Regions from separate parts of the Homo sapiens genome. Here all the other regions are linked to region 1. Evidence: promoter capture Hi-C in human tissues and cell types (Jung and others, 2019). All regions are on one chromosome and are shown on one strand. The core of a region is centred on a gene start or on the middle of the fragment in contact, and the rest is flanking DNA. Distances in the headings are between cores, read along the strand shown. Region 1 holds the start of CDH6 (cadherin 6). Region 2 has its middle 480 kb from the start of CDH6. Region 3 has its middle 400 kb from the start of CDH6. Region 4 has its middle 320 kb from the start of CDH6. Region 5 has its middle 280 kb from the start of CDH6.

Region 1 (2,896 bases), core at 106-2,605:
AACTTCTTGGTTCTTGAATGTTCTGAGTCATAGTTAACTCAGGTGGCCAGCCCTTTGCACTGACAGAGACCTGCATTTAACTCCCCATAAAATATGGATTTTATTGCAGCAGTGACACTTCTTAGCACCACGCTGACCTCTCCAGCATCTCCCATCTCGAGATCTACGGTAACTCATGACAGAATATCTAACTACGGAAGAAGTAATCTCAGCTCTGCAACTGCTGCAGTCCACAACATTGCAGCGTCCCTTTTTATTAAATTCTGGGATTAACGCATTGGGGGCTCCAATTTTCCAGCATCTGGCACCGAAAACCAAGCGCACTCCAACCACTCTCCAATCAGTCCGGGGAAGGCTTTATCCCCCAGATTTGAGCCTGGCCAGCCGTGGAGGAGCACGAGCGAACTGCGCCTTCCATATGACTTTTCCCTGGACAGTGTGCTCCATTTTCGGAGTCCAGTGTTGGACTTTCCTTGCAACCTAAGCATTTCTGTCCTAGATGAGCCGGCAGGCGTTGCCCGGAACGTGCAAGCTAACAGTTTTCTTTAGCTCCTTCTACCAGCCAAATCGTCTCTTTAGTTTAAGTTTTCCTTACTGGGAGCATTCCAGAGTTTTCAGACTACCTGATTTTCTGCTTTACCCCAAAAGCTAAGAAATGTAACTCAGCCCAAGCAGTCACCACGCAGACCCTTATGATGCGGGCAGGTGGAGATAAATCAAGCCCCAAACGGCTCGGCGGGACCTGCACGCACCAGCGCCCTTTGGTAATTGACCAGCCAACTTTGCAAATGCCAGAGCTCCCCTGGCAGCCTCTGCCGGCGTAGAGAAAGGCAGCGGGTTCTTCTGCGGCGGCCCGCTTCCCGGTGCCCCCACCCAGCCCCACGGCGGATCGGTCTTACCAGGAGGCGGAGGAGCGGTGCCCAGGCTCCCCGGGAAGCGGCGTCGGTCCTGAGCAGCGGCAGCAGCGCCGCCCGCGCAGCCGGACCCGCGCGCCCGCCCCGACCCGGGCTCGCAGGCTGAGAGCATCCCTCCCAACTCCGGCGCGGCACCCACCGGGCGGAGAGGGCTCTCTCTCTGATTGGCTTCTATCAACGCTACAGAATTAAAAAAAAAAAAAGGGAGATGTATGCATAGCCAACGGAGCCCGAACCCACCTCTGCTCGCCTTCCTGCGCCCGCGGAGACCCTGCGACCCGCCCAGGCTGCTCCTGCCTCCGCCGCCGCCGCCGCCGCGGTCGCCGGCTCTGCCGTTCTTGCTGTCGCGGCTGAAACTGCAGCTCTTGGGATGCGAAGGTTACGGGCTCGGGAGAGCTGGCTCTTGTGGGCACACACTGATTTGCAAGTGAATGAAGTGGGAGGGAGCAAAGAGAGGAGGACTTTGTTAAAGAGGCCCAGTGCCTGCCCCCGCCCGCCCCCTCCCCTTGACAGAATGACTCCCAGTGTTTGAAGTCCTGAGCAATTCGCTCCCTGGAACACTCCTTCAGCCCCAGGCTTTCCCTTGCTTTCTTTCTTTCTTTCTTTCTTTCTTTTTTTTGTTGGAGGGGGTTTAAGATATACTCAGAACTTGTATGACTCCGTCTGTTTCCTCTTTTGTACTATCAAAATGCACCTTGTGCTATTATCAGCAATGGTCTGATGTTCTTTTTTTTTCACCGACCAAGCAATTACAATTCCCAGGGACACAGTACCTCGTCACTCTATCAGTTGGCCAGCTTCGTGTGATAGCACGTATAACATGCACACACATAAAACAAGCCGGTCTCCTGAGATGACAATACCGATGGCTTTTCTTTACAACATAAACAGGCGTTCTCCAGATGCAAGCAGACATGGATAGATTCATACATGTCTTTCCTTCTCTCCTCCCAGGAAGACACGCTTTCACGTAGCCCCATGATCTCTGTTACTCTTTTGGAGTGACCCCAGGATGTCGTAGCATGAAGCCATGCTTCCCTGGGCTTGCAGAAACACTGAAAACCCAAACCCTTCAGGCTTGCCAATGACTTATGACTGATGCCATCGTTCTAAATGAATTGATACAAGCATACAAAAGACTTGCAGAAGAGGGGTGTACAATGATATTCAAGGTCTGCTTAACGTTCGAAGATCCTTCTGGAAAGTTGCCGAAGTTGGATAACCTTCAAATTAAACTCTTTAGTACACATAGCTGTTTGAATGGCTAGATTGATAGTTACAAAGAGGTAATATCTAATGTTAAGGTACTAAGCCACAAAAATGTGAAACATGTCAAAGTACCATTAAATGAGAGTAATGATTTTCTACATAGGAGACATAGGCATGATGGAGTCAGCCACTGTTGGATTAGGAAAATTAAATCTAATTACCACAGTGATTGCACCCAGGGTCACTAGCCTCCCAAACCAGCTGTTCGCCTGTGCTGCAAGTTCTCAGGGAGATTTCCATTGCACAGAGCTCTAAGAAATGCCAGGCTGCTTGGCCTCTGAGTAGTTAAACTGGCTGGAGGTTGGTCCTGTTCCCAACTGAGCTCTTACTAGAAAACCTTTTGTTTCTCCAATAGAAGTTCAGGCATTTAAATAAAGCCCAAATCAAAAGTATTCCTTTAGGCAGCCAGTGCTTCAAAGAAGTGTGCATGGAATGGTTTTAGCACAGATGTTCTGCACATGGAAGATGGAAAGATTTGAGTTTCTTTCTGGAAAAGACCTTCCCCAAATGAAGAATTGCTACCAATTTGTGAGAAGAGGCTGAACATTTTCTTTTTATAGAGCTCTTTAAACACGTATGAAGTAAGAATGGGGGAGAAGAAAGCTGCTTTAGATTCATAGTCCATTCGTCAGATTATGAATTTCTTATACATTTAATTGGAAATATTAGCTCTGTGTGTCTGTGTAGTCCTTTACTGTTTACAAAGTACTTTT
Region 2 (2,896 bases), core at 132-2,631, 480 kb after region 1:
ATATCACTAACCAGGAGGCATACTGTTCAGTATTTAGAGGAATGCAGTTCTGACTACATAAGCAAACATGCTGTTAGAGAATAATCAAGGAACAAATACATTTTAGAGTGAGTAGGTGAGAGCATTAGTGACACTGACGGAGAAACATGTATCTAAAGACATTTTGAAACTCAGCAGTTTATACAGTCTAGATTGACCATGGACATTGAGATTAAGGAGCAGATATTAACAAATGTGAAAAATTATCAAATCCTTTTGACCACACTGTAATGAGTTACTTTGCTCAAACTCAAAGTTTATCATCTCTTTCTTTGTGATTTTTGGATTATAATAAGAAATTGTAGTTTTGATATGAATTCAAAAAAACACAGGCTAACTATGTTGTGATCAATAAATTATCAGTAAATTATTACTGTAAATAAACTTTGAGCACAGAAACAAAGAATCATTCGTTAAAAAAATACTTTGGCAGATGTGAGAACTAGTTGAAGTTTCCCGTAATACATGACTAATTAGCAACATTTTTAACAGTTTTATAGATATAATTAATGACATATAAAAACTAAACATACTTGTAGTGTATAATTTGTAGTCTTGACATGTGTAAACACCCATAAAATCATCATTGTAATAAAGATAATGAATGTATCTATCACCCCCTGTATTAGGCCGTTCTTGCATTGCTATAAAGGAATACACGAGACTGAGTAATTTATAAGAAAAGATGTTTAATTGGCTCATGGTTCTGCAGGCTGTACCAGAAGCATAGTGCCAGCATCTACTTCAGGGGAGGTTTCAGAGAGATTTACTTATGGCAAAATGTGAAGTGGGAGAGTAGGTGTTTCACATAGCAAGAACGGGAGCAAGAGAGACACAGAGTGTGTGTGTGTCGGGGGGAGGTGCCACAAACTTTTAAAAAACCAGGAGCTTAGAAGGAGAGCTTACCTATCACCAAGGGGATGGCCCAAGCCATTCTTGAGGGATCTTCCCCCCATGATTCAAACACCTCCCACTAGGCCCCACCTCCAACACTGGAGATGGCATTTCAACATGAGATTTGGGCAGGGAGAAATATCCAAACTATATCATTCTGCCTCTGCCCACCCACTGAATCTCCTGTTCTTCTCACATTGCAAAATATAATCATGCGTTCCTAATAGTCCCCCAAAGTCTTAACTCATTCCAGGATTAACTCAGAAGTCCAACGCCCAAAGGCTCATCTGAGAGAAGGCAAGTCTCTTCCATCTATTAGCCTGTAAAATAAAAAATAAGTTATTTACTTCCAAGATACAATGGGGGTATAGGCATTGGGTAAACCTTGCCATTTCAAAAGGGAGAAATCAGCCAAAAGAAAGGGGTTACAGGTCTCACATAAGTTCAAAACACAGCAGGACAATTATTAAATCTTTTTTTATTTTTTATTTATTTATTTTTATTATACTTTAAGTTTTAGGGTACATGTGCACAACGTGCAGGTTTGCTACATATATATACATGTGCCACGTTGGTTTGCTGCACCCATTAACTCATCATTTAACATTAGGTATATCTCTAAGGCTATCCCTCCCCCCTCCCCGTACCCCACAACAGGCCCCGGTGTGTGATGTTCCCCTTCCTGTGTCCATGTGTTCTCATTGTTCAATTCCCACCTATGAGTGAGAACATGCGGTGTTTGGTTTTTTGTCCTTGCGATAGTTTGCTGAGAATGATGGTTTCCAGCTTCATCCATGTCCCTACAAAGGACATGAACTCATCGTTTTTTATGGCTGCATGGTATTCCATGGTTTATATGTGCCACATTTTCTTTACCAAGTCTATCATTGATGGGCATTTGGGTTGGTTCCAAATCTTTGCTATTGTGAACAGTGCTGCAATAAACATATGTGTGCATGTGTCTTTATAGCAGCATGATTTATAAACCTTTGGGTGTATACCCAGCAATGGGATGGCTGGGTCAAATGGTATTTCTAGTTCTAGATCCCTGAGGAATTGCCACACTGACTTCCACAATGGTTGAACTAGTTTACAGTCCCACCAACAGTGTAAAAGTGTTCCTATTTCTCCACATCCTCTCCAGCACCTGTTGTTTCCTGACTTTTTAATGATCACCATTCTAACTGGTGTGAGATGGTATCTCATTGTGGTTTTGATTTGCATTTCTCTGATAGCCAGTGATGATGAGCATTTTTTCATGTGTCTTTTGGCTGCATAAATGTCTTCTTTTGAGAAGTGTCTGTTCATATCCTTTGCCCACTTGTTGATGGGGTTGTTTGTTTTTTCTTGTAAATTTGTTTGAGTTCATTGTAGATTCTGGATATTAGCCCTTTGTCAGATGGGTAGATTGCAAAAATGTTCTCCCATTCTGTAGGTTGCCTGTTCACTCTGATGGTAGTTTCTTTTGCTGTGCAGAAGCTCTCTAGTTTAATGAGATCTCATTTGTCAATTTTGGCTTTTGTTGCCATTGCTTTTGGTGTTTTAGACATGAAGTCCTTGCTCATGCCTGTGTCCTGAATGGTATTGCCCAGGTTTTCTTCTAGGGTTTTTATGGTTTTAGGTCTAACATTTAAGTCTTTAATCCATCTCGAATTAATTTTTGTATAAGGTGTAAGGAAGGGATCCAGTTTCAGCTTTCTACATATGGCTAGCCAGTTTTCCCAGCACCATTTATTAAATAGGGAATCCTTTCCCCATTTCTTGTTTTTGTCAGGTTTGTCAAAGATCAAATAGTTGTACATATGTGGCATTATTTCTGAGGGCTCTGTTCCATTCCATTGGTCTATATCTCCGTTTTGGTACCAGTATCATGCTGTTTTGGTTGCTGTAGCCTTGAAGTATAGCTTGAAGTCAGGTAGTGTGATGCCTCCAGCTTTGTTCTTTTGGCTTAGGATTGACTTGG
Region 3 (2,896 bases), core at 153-2,652, 400 kb after region 1:
ATAATTGGTTTAAGTCTCTAGTAAAGATGCAATATCCCATTAATTATATTGGGATCCCACTATTATGGAGTGAAAATAAGGTAAAAGTTATGTGGCAGGCTATTTTCCCAATAAAGCCTTGCACAACAGGTTTAAAAAATTAGTAAATTGGGTTTTATCAGTACATGTAATAATTCAAGTTTTCCTTGATTTGAAACTACCAATATGAGTGAACAGAGAAGTAAGTTTATATTACACAGTATTAAAGACAATTTATAGTTACTTTTTCAGAGGTATATTTTATTAGTGAAATTTCACAACAGACAAGAACATGAAATAGGATACTGACATTTTGTAAACTCATTGTACTAGGCTAAAAAAGGAAATTCTGTTATAGAGACATCTTTCTTTCCAACTTTAAATTGTTCAGGAAGATGTATTTGAATTCACTGACCTTGTATTTACTTACCAATAGCAAGTAACAGATGAATGAAAGAATATAAAGACATTGAGTTTAAATATCTAACCAGGAAGTGGTTTCTTAGGATAGTTATGCAGGCAATACATTCACTTGTCTTTTCAAATTATTTTCCTTTGTCCAGCGAACTAACCATAGCTAACTACCAGGTACAGTCTTTTAGTAAAGACTATTTGGTTATCAGCAGTGCCTCTTATTTCTGCTCTCCAATCAGCAGATCCTCTCTTTTCTGCTCCCCAAGTATAGGCTCTAGACAACCATGTTTCTGCTGTGCAGTTCTGCTTACCCACGTTCATAGTCATGACGTGTCTGCTGTGTTGAACCTCAGTATATCGAAAACTTAATCTGCAGGACAGATCTCTGGATGGCTTTGGACTGACCCAATTCGCTCCCACTTTCCTGCATGTAGTTCTTGGAAAAACTGTAGAATGTGCTGGGACTACATTCATCCTGAGATCTAGGCAAAAACTGCCTGAAACTGTCTGGGTCTTGTTCTTGTCCCAACCAGAAAATGTAACATCTTGAGCTAGGGAGGAACTGTCTGAGACAAATTGGGCTTTGTTCCTCCTTCTCCTGGAAGCAGGATGTCCTTCAAATCTTTGCCCAGTGAGCCATATTGCCCTGAGGTATATAACTTGGGTTGGAACAACTTTTGAGGTCCCTCAGCCACAATACAAGTGGAACACCCAAAGTTCAGCCTTCCTCCATCTGCCCCAGGCAGCTTTCTTGAGCCTTGAGGGACTGGATCACAATGGATCCTAGACTTCTTTTGCTGCTTGCTGCCTATCTGTAAGTAATAAATCTATTTTATGTAACTTGTTGTGTGTGAGTGTTCTGTCTCATCGGACTCAGGCAATTGATAAAACTATAGCCCAAGGTGCAGTGGGCAAAAGTGTTTGGAGTCCTATTTCTGGTGGTTGGTATAGTGATAATCTTTGCTATTCTCCATGCAGTGGGAATTCTCTCTTGGGGTTGGTAATTGGAGAACCTGGTCCACACTACATTGTGTATAGTAGAGGCTCAACAACTTTTGAATGAACGTGTACATGAAAATAGGCACCTGACTTAAGCTGAGCTATTCAAATCTTGTCACTTGAAAATTGCAACTGAGAAATATGGTTTTGGTGGTTACGTCACATCAATAGTAGAGTTCAACAGGAAAAAATCTACAAGTTGCAATGCCAACTTACCCATGCCTGGTCAGGTTCGTATTTCACTGAAGTGTGGTTGCCTAGCCTTACTTTAATTATAAGAGATACTCCAGTGTATGTATTAAACAAGTTACTCTTTCTTACAGCCGCGAACTCATGCACTGTGCAACTAAACCATCACTTTGATCTTCTGCAAGTGTTTATGCATGTGGGGGTAGAAATAGATGGCACATATGCACATAAATATGAGCACGTATTGTGTTTCTCTAATTATAACTGACACAAATGACAAACTAACTGTAATATGTATGTGTGAATGGGTGTTATTGATTAACCTAGAATTACACATATATTTGTCACTTTTTGTATGTGTGTCTCAGCATAGAATATATATGTATCTGGATATAAAAATTTGGGAGGGCATGTTTTAAAAATTAGCATGGGCTATGTGTATGCACATAGATGTATTTAAGAAAATGTATGATTATAATGTATGTTCTCATTTATTATGGGTTCTCATTATGGATTGAAGGCTATTGTGCCCCCTTTCATCATGTCAGTATTATAGAGGAAGCTTAGTTTTCTGTTTATGTGAATATGTGTGTTGTATTTGTTAATTTAAAAATCATTCTGAGTAAAGAACAACAAAAATAACATGAAAAAACCAAGGTATTTATCACTTGTTTATTCGTTACTTCTTCCTCTTTCTCCTCCTCCATTAGCCTCATCTGTTCTGATTCATTAAACTAAGCATCTTATGTGCAACATCTTTCCATTTACAATTTCTTCCACTTAAAAGAAAGAAATATTAATCTCTAATTTGGATGTTTTCATTTCCTTTCTATTATATTCTTTTATATGAAAACATTGTAGTTACTTTGACTAATGCCATTTTGATTAATCTTTTAAAAATATTATAGAACCTTTTAAGAACAGAATATTCCCAGTTTGCTGATTATTAGATCTCTAATTTCTGTTTAATTTTTATTAATTTCTGTTTAATTTTTATATATTGGGAATGATGAATAGATGATAGATTACTGTAAATCTGTTCTTCTAAAATGGAAACATCTTAAAACATTTCTAAATAATTATAAATATGTAACTCTGAATTATAATTGATACATTTTCCTGAAATTAAGGGGTGTTTTTAAGATGTGTAGATAAGAAACTCAAGATTTGCCAAATTTCTGTTTTGCAGAAGGTCTTATTCCAGGGTTGGTAATTATCATTTAATGTAGAGAAGCTTTAAGGTCTGGATCCCATATACCCTAGAATTCTAATTCCA
Region 4 (2,896 bases), core at 138-2,637, 320 kb after region 1:
CTCCCACATCAATCATGCACAGGTAGTGTGTCTTTCTCTTGCACTGGAAACCTGCTGAAATGACAGGTGGGGCTGCCCTGCAGTAGCCCTGGAAGGGTGTTGCATGCTCCTGCATCCCAATCTCCCTTCAATATGACGGTTTCAAAGGTGTCCTCATCTGCACAATTTTGCAAATTGTGAGAAGTGTGGCTGAGTGGCTTTCATATGGCAGCTGAAGAGGAGGAGACAATGTTGAAACTGTCACCAATTTAAGCTTGCTTTTGCTTTAGGGTGTCTTACACAGTGCTGGAGAAGCGGGGGAGGGTTTTCAGCACGCCCACTTCAGTGGGTATTGAATTGCCTGCATAATTACCTTTCTCCAAATTTGTCTCAAATTTGCTGAGAGAAACCTTACTTGCCAGCTTTTCAGAATACACTGTGAGTGTGTTTTATGATTTTTTTTCAACCTCTTTCAGGTACTATGGTTAGTTATTTGCTCTACCTCACAAGCATTTGATTAGCCTGTATAAATGTCAGCCTGAGTGAATGGTTTCACTTTATGTAGTATCTGGAAGTCTAACTAATGATACCATTATAAAGTGAGGAAAGGAAACAACTATAAGAATCACAGTCCTTCCTGGAAATTGTCTTGTTCCTTCTGATTTGTGAAGTCTACCAACTGTTAAGAGTTCCTTGATTGAGCCTGATAGTCCTTGAACACAGGGATGGAGTTGAGTTTCAATGCGATTGAGTCACAAACTATTCAGTATTTTGTAGACTCACATCGATTGACAGGCCAGCAAATGAGGAGAAGCAAAAAAAAATCTCACATCCATAAGGTATCTCTTAGGCTCATCTACCTCAAGTGTTTTCGTCAGTGTTAGAACATTTGTCCCAGTTCCCTGGAGTAAGTCCTTGTGAGGAATTATAACTCAATTTTTTAGTACCATCTCTGAATCACATCAGTCTCTGTTTTCTGTCAATTATGTGCAGCACAGGCTTCTCTTTGCTAGTCTCCTACTTCTTCGGCTTTTATCTTTTCGATTGCTACCAGTTTTCTTCCTACAACTTTGCCAGTTTTTTCTCAGCCTCCTTCCTCACCTCCCTTTCTTCCTCTAATCCCTTAGCTGCTGTTATTCCCAGAAATTTACCTTCTGCCCACTGCCCTCCTCAGGCTACATTCTTTCCCTTAGAAATCTCATCTTACCTTCATTTTATAATTACCTAAATGCTAATGATTGCCAAATGTATACATTTTACCTGGACTGCCCCAAGGATGTTTGGATTTATGCAATCTGCTCCACCTACCCATTTGATTTTCACAGGCACCTCAGATTAACCATGTTCATAACTGAATCCATTGTCCTGCCCTCCTTTGAATCATCCTCTCCAATTCCAAATGACCATTACTGACACACCACCCATTGAGCTGGGTGACAGACAGAATGTCAGCAATCATCTGAGATGTTTTGTTTCTTACTTTTTCTATCCAATCAGCCCTACAACGCAATCAGTCTCTTCTATTTTCACTCTCAAATATTTCTAGAGTCTCTTCTTATTTTTCCATCACTTCCACTGCTGCACAGCTCTAATGCTCCTTTCTCATTGGAATTCTTCTAACACTATCCTAACTAGGTTCCTTTTTTCCAGTTTAATCTTGTCCTAATTTATGCCTGACTGATACTTCTAAAACACAAATCTGACAATACTGCTCTTATAATTAGAATGGTATTCTTTTTCTGAAAAATCAATATCAAGCCCTGTCTTATGACCCAGGAGACTGCCCTTGTCCTCTGTTTTGTATCACAAAGGCCTCCTGCTTCAGATTGACCCCTCTTTCCTGACATTAGTAATTTTTACTCAACCTTCAAGACTCAGTTCAAAGCATAACTGACTCAAGTGACCTTCCTTTTCCCACTTAAGCTTGGCTAAGTGTCTCTTCTCCTACCTCCAAAGCTGCTTATAGACAACATTGTCACTGCCAGCTTGCAGAAGAATGAGGTTCAACATTCTGCAAGATCCTAAGCAGCAGAGTCCTTGCATCCTTCTACCCCTAAAGCCCCGTGCAGTGCCTAGACCACACTTGGTGCTCAATAAATGTTAATCTGACCTAGAACATTCCAAATTCTTATGATTTCAAAGATTACCTCAATAGCTTCATAATTCATTTCCTTGTCTCCAAGGCATTCTTGCCGCAAGCCATCTTGCACACAGCTGATAGATGAATAAAGCACTGCTCTTACGGTTTTCCTTCCTAGTTAAAAATCTACAAAAGTTTCACAATGCTTTATGAAGATTTCGGATTGAATTTATCTGTCTTTCCTCACGTGAGTGGTTCTGCCTTACCTATTCAAATCCATCTGCTGCTGTTCAATTCAGATGCTCTTCTCAGCATCTCAGTTCTTCTCCTTTGTCACCATCCAGCATAGTTCAGTAATTATCAACCTTCACCTTTACATACGTTTTTAGGATTTACAAAGGACTTTCACAATCCATGCTCATTCCTTCCTCCAGTAATTTTTGCTCTTCTTCCTGTGGGAGTATTTCTTTTGGGTGTCCTAATTGAAATTCTATTTTCTTGAAGGTCCAAATCATAATGATGACTTCTGTGAAAACTTCAACAAGAAAATAAGTTCATAGCAGTCTTTTCCATAATTTATATGTTTCTAATAAAAAGATAATGTTTTGTTTTTTAACCATACTATTTCTCTTACTCTAGATATCTTCCCCCTTCCAAGCTTTTTATTTTTATTTTCAAAGCTGCACATTTTATCTTTCCAACTAGCATCAAAGTTTCCCAAAGGTAGTGGCTAAAAAGTCTTTCTGTATTTTCATACATCATGTTTGGAATAGAATAGATTCTCCTCGTGGGTGGCATGTACTAAGATTTTTCTTCCCCTTCTGTGAAGTAAATTTA
Region 5 (2,896 bases), core at 151-2,650, 280 kb after region 1:
CAGAAATATATAATAAATGAATCATAAAATGAATGTACCTGGTTTACTTAGAGAAGTTCCAGGAAAGGAGTTTAAAGCTGCAGGTGCATCTGTGTTAGGGAAAATAGGTGATGTTCCCGAATAGTCTAAAGCTAGATTTTTTAAAAATTAAATATTTACTTATTTATGTTTCCTTCTTCCTCTGTGATGACTAAAGCTAGATTTTAAAGAAACTTAATGCCAGGTTCAAGAGTAGAGTTTCAATAAATGAAAGCATTTACTTGTCATGCAATTACCACTCACATGAACTTGTTTATGTATAAGTACTGGGTAATGACTATTGATTTCATTTTTATTTTTCCCAATTAAAAATAATCTCTATCCATATTTATCAGAAGATACTGTGCTAAGTTTCTAAAGGTGCTTGCATGACATTTTTCTCTGAACTGGATAGATAAGGTTATGCATTTTTTTCCCCACTAGACTATGAGCTTCTTGAAAGTGTAGAACATTAATATTTATTTTTCAAGAATATAAGCATATATGTGACACATCATTGGTGCTTTATATAGTTTTGCTCAATGTGTGATTCAGAGAAGAAAAGAATGGAAAATAAATAGTATAGTAAAAACATGAGTCTTCTTATTTTAATTGACAGTGCAGGTGGTGGTCAGGACATTACCAGCTTACAGAAGTCTAATACATCACACAGGTAAATGGCAGTTGGTAAATGTGATGGTTAATATTGAGTGTCAACTTGATTGGATTGAAAGATGCAAAGTATTGTTCCTGGGTGTGTCTGTGAAGGTGTTGCCAAAGGAGATTAACATTTGAGTCAGTGGACTGGGAGAGGCAGACTCACCCTTAATCTCGGTAGGCACCATCTAGTCAGCTGCCAAAGTGGCTAGAATAAAGCAGCAAGAGAAGATGGAAGAGCAGATTTGCCGAGTCTTCCAGCCTTCATCTTTGTCTCATGCTGGATGCCTCCTGCCCTCAAACATCAGACTCCAAGTTCTTCAGCTTTTGGACTCTTGGATTGACACCAGCGGTTTGACAGGGGCTCTCGGGCCCTTGGAAACAGACTGTAAGTGCACAGTTGGCTTCCCGACTTTTGAGGTTTTGGGACTCTGACTGATCCACCACCGGCTTCCTTGCTCCTCAACTTGCAGACGGCCTATCATGGGACTTAAACTTGTGAACATGTGAGTCAATTCTCCTTTAATAAACTCGCTTTCATATACACATCTATCCTGTTAGCTCTGTCCCTCTAGTGAACCCTGGCTAATACAGTAAGCAAAGCCTCATGGAGACTCTTCAGGGTGCTTCTAATGCCACTGTCATGAGTCAGCTTGATGCAACCTGGAGATGTGAGAAACCCCTTACTAGTCAAAGATTTGTATGGAAATTGAAACTATACCTGTTTTTGCATCTCGGCCTGCATGTTTACTAAGTACACGCTCCAAACTCTGGAAGCCTAGGGTACACAGTTTTCTCTATCTCAGTATTACAAAGACTACAGCACTCAACAGGATATCAACCAAAGAGAAGTATTTGTTTCTAAGATCAGGGCTTTAGAGACAAGAAGGATAAGTCAAGATGAGGACGAGGACAAATGACTCAAAAAGGGAATTTTGGTATATTCCAGTGATTATCTGTTGTTCACAGTCATTCTGGACCACAAAATATGCAGACAAGAAAATTCATTCTAAAGAAAGAAGAACAGAAAGGAGACAGGCTTGGACATAATCTCACAACCTGAAGTTATTTTTAAAAAGCAGTGGCTCTAATGATGATAATAATGTTGTCTGCTTTCAGGTTTTTAAATTATTCTTTAAAAAATCAGATGCAAAATAATAAGCGAGGCCAGGCTAAAGTTGAAATTGATTTTCCCAAAATAAGACACCTTGCTTTTCCAGCACTTCATGTAAATGCAAAAGTTATGGAAGTAGTGAAAAGTGTTGAACCTACAATTATGCCTTTTGCCTTAAAATTTTAGCTGTGATTTTGCTTTGAAAAAGCTTTTGTTCCATTTCTTCCCCATTCCTAACACTGCCATTTTGTTTGTGTGTGATCAGACAAAAATGTAGAACATGGAATGACTTTGGATAAAATTAAAATTTAAATGGCCAGCAAGAAGTCTTTAGAGAACATTTATTTCTGTCTGTATGTGGCACTTTCAGGTGGCTAGGCCTGTGGGTCAGAGTCATTCAGATTTATCTTTATTCTGTAGATGTAGGAGTGCTCCTTCTATTGGCTTTCTGTGTCTCACTCTGAGATCAAAAGGTTGTATCATAAATGAACAATCTCAGAGCTAGAGAGACTGGATGTACTGTGTGCTGATATGATAAAAGTAAAGATACTTTGCTAGAAATTCTCCCAAAGCATCATTTCCCTTTCTTTATGCACAATGTACAACAGAGAATAGTCAAGGGAAGAAAAGATCAGCCTGCAAGAAGGCAAGGAATATGTGAGAAAAAGCATGAGAAAGCAAGAGAAAAAGTCCTGGGCATTGCAAAGAAGAGGCTAGCCACACCTTATTAGTTTATACAGAGCTGCATTTTTTTTTTTTTGGCAGTACCCACTCTTGTCAGTACTTCAAGTTTATCTCATTTTTTTTTCTTTGCCCCTTTCACTCCACTGAGGCATCCAAAGATGATCACTGCCATAGTTTGCCTCATTGCAGTTTTTAATGACTTCATCTCCTCTTATACTTCCTTAATGTTTCTTATGGTGACAAGTTGCTTACCCGGGTAAATGGCTAACGCAGAAAGAGCAGGAACTCATCTATCTTCAAGCCAGTCTTTTCCTATCCTCTTCCTTCCTGCCACCCTCTAGGGATATATGTTCTCTCTGTTACCCCCTATGCAGCATAAACCTGAGCATTACATGACAGTAAAGATTTCCTTCTAGAAAAAGA

What was found. The method cuts DNA at HindIII sites, captures the fragments that hold promoters and counts their contacts. A contact is called where the count stands out against the background at its distance.
Region 2: a contact is called between a fragment that was not itself captured here and the fragment with the promoter of CDH6 in region 1, in 1 of the 25 tissues and cell types used here (dorsolateral prefrontal cortex).
Region 3: a fragment that was not itself captured here is called in contact with the fragment with the promoter of CDH6 in region 1 in 2 of the 25 tissues and cell types used here (hippocampus and pancreas).
Region 4: a contact is called between a fragment that was not itself captured here and the fragment with the promoter of CDH6 in region 1, in 1 of the 25 tissues and cell types used here (H1 embryonic stem cells).
Region 5: a fragment that was not itself captured here is called in contact with the fragment with the promoter of CDH6 in region 1 in 1 of the 25 tissues and cell types used here (aorta).

The regions. Positions count from the first base shown.
Region 1 is chr5:31,192,145-31,195,040 of GRCh38, reverse strand. It overlaps CDH6 (cadherin 6), which reads right to left and starts at 1,355. Exons shown (of 12, transcript NM_004932.4): 1 at 1,155-1,355. The HindIII fragment of the contact is 7,217 bases long and covers 1-2,896 here.
Region 2 is chr5:30,709,595-30,712,490 of GRCh38, reverse strand. No RefSeq gene overlaps it. Among named protein-coding and RNA genes, the nearest start is that of CDH6, 480 kb to the left of the region's middle. The HindIII fragment of the contact is 6,839 bases long and covers 1-2,896 here.
Region 3 is chr5:30,791,396-30,794,291 of GRCh38, reverse strand. No RefSeq gene overlaps it. Among named protein-coding and RNA genes, the nearest start is that of CDH6, 400 kb to the left of the region's middle. The HindIII fragment of the contact is 8,207 bases long and covers 1-2,896 here.
Region 4 is chr5:30,868,787-30,871,682 of GRCh38, reverse strand. No RefSeq gene overlaps it. Among named protein-coding and RNA genes, the nearest start is that of CDH6, 320 kb to the left of the region's middle. The HindIII fragment of the contact is 3,693 bases long and covers 1-2,896 here.
Region 5 is chr5:30,916,764-30,919,659 of GRCh38, reverse strand. No RefSeq gene overlaps it. Among named protein-coding and RNA genes, the nearest start is that of CDH6, 280 kb to the left of the region's middle. The HindIII fragment of the contact is 3,846 bases long and covers 1-2,896 here.